Regions from separate parts of the Homo sapiens genome. Here region 2 is linked to region 1. The links are contacts of gene promoters, found by promoter capture Hi-C in blood cells and fetal thymus (Javierre and others, 2016). All regions are on one chromosome and are shown on one strand. Each heading gives the region's core, a stretch centred on a gene start or on the middle of the fragment in contact. The rest is flanking DNA. Distances are from core to core; before and after follow the strand shown.

Evidence for each region. Contacts are between HindIII fragments. The CHiCAGO score rates a contact against its expected background, and 5 or more counts as called.
Region 2: a fragment that was not itself captured here is called in contact with the fragment with the promoter of S100A12 in region 1 in 1 of 17 cell types (neutrophils); the score reaches 5.4 in neutrophils.

Annotation. Positions count from the first base shown.
Region 1 is chr1:153,374,177-153,378,694 of GRCh38, forward strand. It overlaps S100A12 (S100 calcium binding protein A12), which reads right to left and starts at 1,445. Exons shown (of 3, transcript NM_005621.2): 1 at 1,376-1,445; 2 at 279-436. The coding sequence starts at 416. The HindIII fragment of the contact is 5,829 bases long and covers 1-1,543 here.
Region 2 is chr1:153,581,440-153,585,437 of GRCh38, forward strand. No RefSeq gene overlaps it. Among named protein-coding and RNA genes, the nearest start is that of S100A2, 18 kb to the left of the region's middle. RefSeq lists an enhancer at 1,644-2,568. The HindIII fragment of the contact is 3,376 bases long and covers 401-3,776 here.

The DNA.
Region 1 (4,518 bases), core at 195-2,694:
TCTTCTGCTCACTCATTCAACCCCTCCCGTGCCCTGCCTCTCTCCATTTTACATATGAGGAAACAGACTCAGAGAGAGGAACTGAGTAGAGCCTTAAGTGAGTTATTGAGAGAGGGAAGCAAAGGACCTCTCCCACAGCAGCGGGGAGAGCATCCTTTGGGAGCTCAAACTGGGGCCAACCCCACCCCAGTCCTTGTCCCACCATCCTCTGCCAGGCCTTGCCACTCCCCTCAGTGCAGGGTCATGGGCAAGTTTGCAGTGAGAGGGGCATCACCTACCTTGATGGTGTTTGCAAGCTCCTTTGTAAGCAGCTGCTTCAGCTCACCCTTAGAGAGGGTGTCAAAATGCCCCTTCCGAACTGAGTATTGGTGGAAGATATTGACAATTCCCTCCAGATGCTCTTCAAGTTTTGTCATCTTCCCAGCCTAATGTTAACCTTCAAGGAAACAAGGGAAGTCTAGAGGCAGTTTCTCCCCCACCCCTCAACCTCCACTCTCCCCTCTCTTTCTGAATCAAGGGCCTAAAGAAAACATAACATCCTCCATATCTATTTTGTGGTCTCTGCTCTGTTTGATCCATGGTGAACTTCTCATGTGTGGATAGGATGGGGAGGAGAAAACATATAATACTGTCTAACGTCTAAAAAAATCAGCCTCAGTTGCCCATGTTCCATACCACCTCATCCACCGGGGTGCATAACTTGGAGGGTATTGCTTACTCAAGGTCCCTTGGGAAGGGTTCTGTGATTGGCCAGGCTGTTTGCTTTCCTCAGGTGATGGCACTATGGCCACATATCCCCCACAAATGGTCCATAACCCACCCCTGCTTAGCCATTCTTTTTTTGTTGTTGTTGTTTTGGGTTTTTTGTTTGTTTGTTTGTTTGTTTTTGAGACGGAGTCTCACTCTGCCGCCCAGGCTGGAGTGCAGTAGGGCGATCTCGGCTCACTGCAAGTTCTGCCTCCCGGGTTCACGCCATTCTCCTGCCCCAGCCTCCCGAGTAGCTGGGACTACAGGCACCCGCCACCACGCCCGGCTAATTTTTTGTATTTTTTTAGTAGAGACGGGGTTTCACCATGTTAGCCAGGATGGTCTCGATCTCCTCACCTCATGATCCGCCCGCCTCGGCCTCCCAAAGTGCTGGGATTACAGGCGTGAGCCACCGTACCCGGCCTGCTTAGCCATTCTTAAATCATGGGACTGAGTCTACATAGCACAACAAGAGCTGATCTACTTGGGTCCAAAATGCAATATCACCCCAGAGGTGCTCAGGCAAGTGGAGGGTTGTGGTTTCCAACACCTTGTGATTTCAAAGTGGTCACCTGCAGTCACTACCCTGTGGACCACCTAAGAACCCATCCAAGGAAAATGCACTTACCCCTCAATGCACAGGAATGTGGAGCTACAGCAAAAAGCCAGCAGTGGTGAAGGGCACTGAGCCAAGGAAGGTTTTATAATCAGTTCAGGCTTCATCTTAGCCCTTGGGTGAAGAAATCTCTGATTCATCTTGAGGCAATTTATGTAAAGTACTCTGTTGCTCAATAGAAGCTTCAAACCTGTGGCTTAGGCTGCCACAGGAGCAGCCCAGATTGTACCCAGACTGAATTTTGCCCTCCTGCTCAGCCTGAAACAAAATCACCCCCACTCCACCCACCCGCACAGGGGTGCCCTGAACCTTTTTTAGCCCTGAGCCAGGGCCCAGGTTTCAGGTTTAGCTCTACTCCACTGCTCCCTAATAAAAGACTAGGAGAACAAACTTTACAGCCTGAGTGTCTTGTTTTAACAGATGAGGTTACCAGCTCTTCAGTTTTGGCAAATGGAATATCAACTTAAAGATCTTTATGCAGCTAAGGAGATAGGTAGGGAGACCTCCTCCTAAGTCGTTCTGGGATGCAAAGTTCATCACTGGAGCAGAGGATCAGTTTTCAAAATAGATTCCAAGGTTTTCAAAAAAGGAGAGAGCAATGCTACTATGCCTCCCCTTTGCTTTCCCAACTTTCTAACTTGGCTGTTACAAAGACCTAGAAAGCTGGAGTAGGGTAATCATTGTGTGTGAAGAAAGTTCACCATGCCTAGGTTACTTTACCATGTTCATGAGTTCAGTAAGACAGAACATTCACACGAGTTTTAGTAAAGCAACTTTATTACTCACAGAGAGGCAGCAAGGGACAACAGATGCCCAGGATTCATGGAGAGGTGGTCCTTCAAGATTCAGAAACCTGCCCAAAATGGATTAAGTCTCATCTGTACATTCCCCATGTCGCACCAAAGCTAAGGGACATCCAAAAGCACTCTGCCCTTGGTTTATGCCTAGAGGTCAATAAGATTGCTGAGCAATCAAGGCCATGCCAGAACCTGTGCTGCCATCTACCCCACAACACAGATATCCCCCTTAGCAAAGCTAGTTCATTTCATGTGCCCACCGACCTCTCTGGATCTGGAGGCAAAAGTCTGTCTCTCCGATCCATGTGTCACCTTGACTGACACAATCTCAGTGCAACATTGTTAAGCCATTGACAGTATTTGTTTCACTAGGCCCAGGAGGACACCACCAGAGCAGGATGATCAGGCTTGTGTAAATCAATGACAATGACCAAGGTGAATCTCAATCATTTTAGGAGGTTTATTTGGCCAAAGTTAAGGATGCGTGCCCAGAGGTAGGTCTACGTCTTTCTCCAAAGATGATTTTGAGGGCTTCAATATTTGAAGGAGAAACAGTGGATATTGGGGGAAGAGGAAGAAATATTTTTTAAATGTGTCAGTAGATAAGAGACAAGTGATTGCATCCTTTTGAGTCTTTGATCAATCTTTCACTGAATACACAATTTTCATGTGGGAGCGGAGTAGAGGAAATAGTCACTTATGCCTTCATCTGGCTCAGTGAATCTGCATTTTTACATAAGATAACAAAAATAGGGGAGAGGAAGCAATCAGATATGGATTTGTCTTGGGTGAGCAGAGGGATGACTTTATGTTCTGCCCTTTGTCCCACACCTGTGAAGATAAGCTGTCAATTACACTGCCAGGGTGAAATTCAATAGAACTGTTTTAGGGTAAAGATCTTGAGGCTCACAAGGAATTTCCTTGTGGGCAAGTTGTGAGATTGGTGTATGGCTTTTTATCTTTGTAGCTATCTTATTTAGAAACCAACCTGGGTGGGGGCAGGCTTGCATGACCCATTTCCCAGCTTGACTTTTCCCTCTGGCTTAGTAAGTTTGGGATCCTGAGATGTTTTTTTTTTTTCACATCTGCCTGGAGAAGGGACTAGCCCAGGATCCCAGCCATCCAGGCAAGAGGTTGCTAAATGCGGATCACGAGGTCAGGAGATCGAGACCATCCTGGCTAAGATGGTGAAACCCCATCTCTACTAAAAATACAAAAAATTAGCCAGGCATGGTGGCAGGCACCTGTAGTCCCAGATACTCAGGAGGCTGAGGCAGGAGAATGGCGTGAACCCACAAGGCGGAGCTTGCAGTGAACCGAGATCGCGCCACTGCACTCCAGCCTGGGCAACAGAGTGAGACTCCCTCTCAAAAAAAAAAAATAGAAATCAAAAAAGCAGGAACACAGCCTCACATACAAATATTAACCTCCAATGTGAATGGCCTAAACACTGCACTTAAAACACATACCTTGGCAAATTCGATTTAAAAACAAGACCCATCCTTCTGCTGTCTTCAAGCACCTGTCTCATGTGTAATGACACCTGTAGATTCAAAGTAAAGGGATGGAGAAAGATCTATCATGCAAACAGAAAACAAAAAAGAGCAGAGGTTGCTATTCTTGAATCAGATCCGATAGACTGTAAGCCAACAACAGTAAAAAAGGATAAAGAAGGGCATTACATAGTGATAAAGGGTTCGATTTAACAAGAAAATTTAACCATCCTAAATAAATACACACCCAACACTGGAGCACCCAGATTTATAAAATAAGTACTTCTGCATCTAAGAAAAGATTTTGGCAGCCACACAATAATAGCAGGGGACAACACCCCACTGACATCAGTAGACAAATCATCAAGGCAGAAAACTAACAAAGAAATTATGGACTTAAATTTGACACTTGACCAATTAGACTTAATAGACATCTATAGAACAATGCACCCAACAACCACAGAATATATATTATTTTCATCTGCACATGGAACATACTCTAAGATCAACCACATGCTCAGTCATAAGGCAAATCTCAATAAATTCAAAAAAATCAAAATCATACCAAGAATCTTGGACCGCAGTGGAATAAAAATAGAAATCAATACCAAGAGGAACTCTCAAAACCACACAAATAAATGGAAACTAAACAACTTGTTCCTGACTTTTGGTTAAACAACAAAATTAAGGCAGAAATCAAAAAATTCTTTGAAACATACAAAAATAGAGACACAACACAACATATCAAAACATCTGGAATGTAGCAAAAGTAGTGTTAAGAGGGAATTTTTTTTTTCATCTTGGATGTGGGCGAATCTCATTTTAATTGCAAAAGACTTCATTCACAGCACATTCAATAATGGAC
Region 2 (3,998 bases), core at 839-3,338, 210 kb after region 1:
TTCTTTTGTTTGTTTGGTTTTTTTTTTTATTTTCAACAGGGGCTTCTGCAATAGAATCTATCTGGTTAAAACATGACAGTGATACTTTTTTTATTTCACAGCTAAGTTCACATTAAAGTAAAGAAAACCCTTCTAGGCCCAAAGCGAAGGGGAAACTAAAAACCAATTAGGCGTGAGTTAATGCTACAGCTGTTCTTGGGAAGGGACGGTTTCTAATCTCAGAAAACAAGGGGCTTCAGTTTTCAAGGACCAATCGTGAAGAGATGGGTCCTTATAACTGCAAGTATCTGGGAATCCGAAAGCCACCTTACATGAAGCAAGGTGCCCCAAGTACCACTTTCTTGGTGAAAGAATGGGCTGAAAGAAAAAACCTCTCATGAGCAAAATGAGATTTCGAGGAAGCTTGTACGTCTTCGCCTGGGCTCTGGATGGAGAAAGTTTTCTTAGAGAAATTTTAACCTTGGGCCTGTCTTCATGCAGATTTGGGATTTTAGTTTACATGGCTGGAATGGTTCAGAAAACCCCAAAGCCAAGAAGTCAACATAAAAAGTAATACTAAACTGGTTTTGGCCTTGGGGCACTTGGGAAAAGCAAAACAAAATTACTTTGAAGACTTATACTCTTAAACCAGATTAACCAGGATTCCCCCAGCTAAAGCTGAGGTTGACATTTTTTAAATTAGATGAAATAGGCAGCTTTGCAGGAAAAAAAATTATATATATGTAAATTTTATATATATGTAAATTATTTATATGTAAAGCTGACCAACATTGACTAAGAAGGAGAAAATCTGAAGACCTATAATCATTAAAGAAATTGATTAGCAGTATAAATCTACCTAACAAAGATAAAATTGATGGTTTTCATAGACAAGTTTACCAAATAAGAAAAAAAATCCTTTTCCACGGTCTCCCTCTGATGCCAAGCCGAAGCTGGACTGTACTGCTGCCATCTCGGCTCACTGCAACCTCCCTGCCTGATTCTCCTGCCTCAGCCTGCCGAGTGCCTGCGATTGCAGGCGCGCGCCGCCACGCCTGACTGGTTTTTGTATTTTTTTGGTGGAGACGGGGTTTCGCTGTGTTGGCCGGGCTGGTCTCCAGCTCCTAACCGCGAGTGATCCGCCAGCCTCGGCCTCCCGAGGCGCCGGGATTGCAGACGGAGTCTCGTTCACTCAGTGCTCAATGGTGCCCAGGCTGGAATGCAGTGGCGTGATCTCGGCTCGCTACAACCACCTCCCAGCCGCCTGCCTTGGCCTCCCAAAGAGCCGAGATTGCAGCCTCTGCCCGGCCGCCACCCCGTCTGGGAAGTGAGGAGCGTCTCTGCCTGGCTGCCCATCGTCTGGGATGTGAGGAGCCCCTCTGCCTGGCTGCCCAGTCTGGAAAGTGAGGAGCGTCTCTGCCCGGCCGCCATCCCATCTAGGAAATGAGGAGCGTCTCTGCCCGGCCGCCCATCGTCTGAGATGTGGGAAGCGCCTCTGCCCCGCCGCCCCGTCTGGGATGTGATAAGCGCCTCTGCCCGGCCGCGACCCCGTCTGAGAAGTGAGGAGACCCTCTGCCTGGCAACCGCCCCGTCTGAGAAGTGAGGAGTCCCTCCGCCCGGCAGCCACCCCGTCTGAGAAGTGAGGAGCCCCTCCCTCCGTCAGCCACCCCGTCTGGGAAGTGAGGAGCGTCTCCACCCGGCAGCCACCCCCGTCCGGGAGGGAGGTGGGGGGGTCAGCCCTCCGCCCGGCCAGCCGCCCCGTCCGGGAGGTGCGGGGCGCCTCTGCCCAACCGCCCCTACTGGGAAGTGAGGAGCCCCTCTGCCCGGCCAGCTGCCCCGTCCGGGAGGGAGGTGGGGGGGGTCAGCCCCCCGCCCGGCCAGCCGCCCCGTCCGGGAGGTGAGGGGTGCCTCTGCCCGGCCGCCTCTACTGGGAAGTGAGGAGCCCCTCTGCCCGGCCACCACCCTGTCTGGGAGGTCTACCCAACAGCTCATTGAGAACCGGCCATGATGACAATGGCGGTTTTGTGGAATAGAAAGGGCGGAAAGGTGGGGAAAAGATTGAGAAATCGGATGGTTGCCGTGTCTGTGTAGAAAGTAGACATGGGAGACTTTTCATTTTGTTCTGTACTAAGAAAAATTCTTCTGCCTTGGGATCCTGTTGATCTGTGACCTTACCCCCAACCCTGTGCTCTCTGAAACATGTGCTGTGTCCACTCAGGGTTAAATGGATTAAGGGCGGTGCAAGATGTGCTTTGTTAAACAGATGCTTGAAGGCAGCATGCTCATTAAGAGTCAACACCACTCCCTAATCTTAAGTACCCAGGGACACAAACACTGCAGAAGGCCGCAGGGTCCTCTGCCTAGGAAAACCAGAGACCTTTGTTCACTTGTTTATCTGCTGACCTTACCTCCACTATTGTCCTATGGCCCTGCCAAATCCCCCTCTGCGAGAAACACCCAAGAATGATCAATTAAAAAATAAATAAATAAATAAATTTAAAAAAAAAAAAAACAAAAGTCAGCCAAAAAAAAAAAGAAAAAAAAATCATACAAACTTAAATTTCCAGAAAATAGAAAAAGGAAATACTGCCCATATGTGGCATATATAAAATAACCTTTATGGTAGAGACTGCTAATTGTCCTATTACCTATTCTCCCCTTGTCTTTCACAGCAAAAGAATCTTTGCTTTTAAGTTCAAATAAAGGCCACACTTCCCAGCCTTCCTTGCAGCTGAGTGTAGCCATATGACTAAGTTCTGGCCAAGAGAAGTAGAAATGGGGTATGCAAGTTTTGATTCATGCTCAAAAGTCAGAGACATGCCGTTTCTTCACCCTGCCACTTAGAAAGTACATGAGCTATTTGGACCATACGAACTAGGGGTGGTTAAGCAGAACCACCAAACCAGCCCTGGACCACCAACCTCCAGATAATACAGGACAGAAAAAAAAAACTTCCCTCTCATTCACGTCACCACTATTTTTGGTATCCGTTACATACAGCCAAACCCATGTACCAAGCAGATCATCCTACATACCAACACCAGAAATGTATCGTATGAGAAAGGAAAATTGAGACCCAATCTCACTTATGATTATAGATGCAAAATCCTAAATAAACTGTTAGCAAATGGAATCAAGTATTATACTTAAGAAAAATTATGACTAAGTTGGGTTTATGTCATGATTGCAGGGATGACTTTAACATTAGAAAATACATTAATGTAAGTCTCCACATTAAGAGATTAAAAATTAAAACCATATGATGATGCCAGAATAAATTCAATACCCATTTATAATAATAACGCTTAATAATCTAGGAATAGAAAGGAACATCTTGACCAACAAGCAAAAACCTACTGCAATCTTATTTTTTTTTTTTTAGTGGGGTTTCACCACGTTGCCCTCACTGGTCTCAAACTCCTGAGCTCAAAGGATCCACCTACCTCGGCCTCCCAAAGTGCTGGAATTACAGGCATGAGCCACCACACCCAGCCTGCAATCTTATTCTTAACATTAAATTATTCTTAACAGTAAATGAATGAACAGTAAATGCTTTAAAATTGTTCCTGTTAAAGTCAAACACAAGGAAAGGATTCTTGCTATTATCACTTTATTCAACATTAATTTGAAGGTTCTGACCATTACACTAAGGAAAACATTTTTTCAAGGTCTAAGGATTGGAAAAAAACAAGGATATGATACAATTGCCTCCAGAGAAGAAACAAGCAGGGCAAAACACAAGGCCTATCAGGATAAAAAGCTGATGCAAGTAAGTCGGGGGCTGATCTGAGGCAACAAGCTTCCTCCCACTGCAAATCCACAGAGCTGGAGGTTTAAATCCAGGGAGACTGCCTTTTCCCAGAGCTGCTTTTTATTTTTTTATTTTTTTATTTTTTTTCCACATGTATGAGTGAATATTTTATTTTTTTATTTTGTATATATATAGATAGATTTTTATTATACTTTAAGTTCCAGGGTACATGTGCACAACATAAAGCTTAAAGGCAAATTCCCATCCA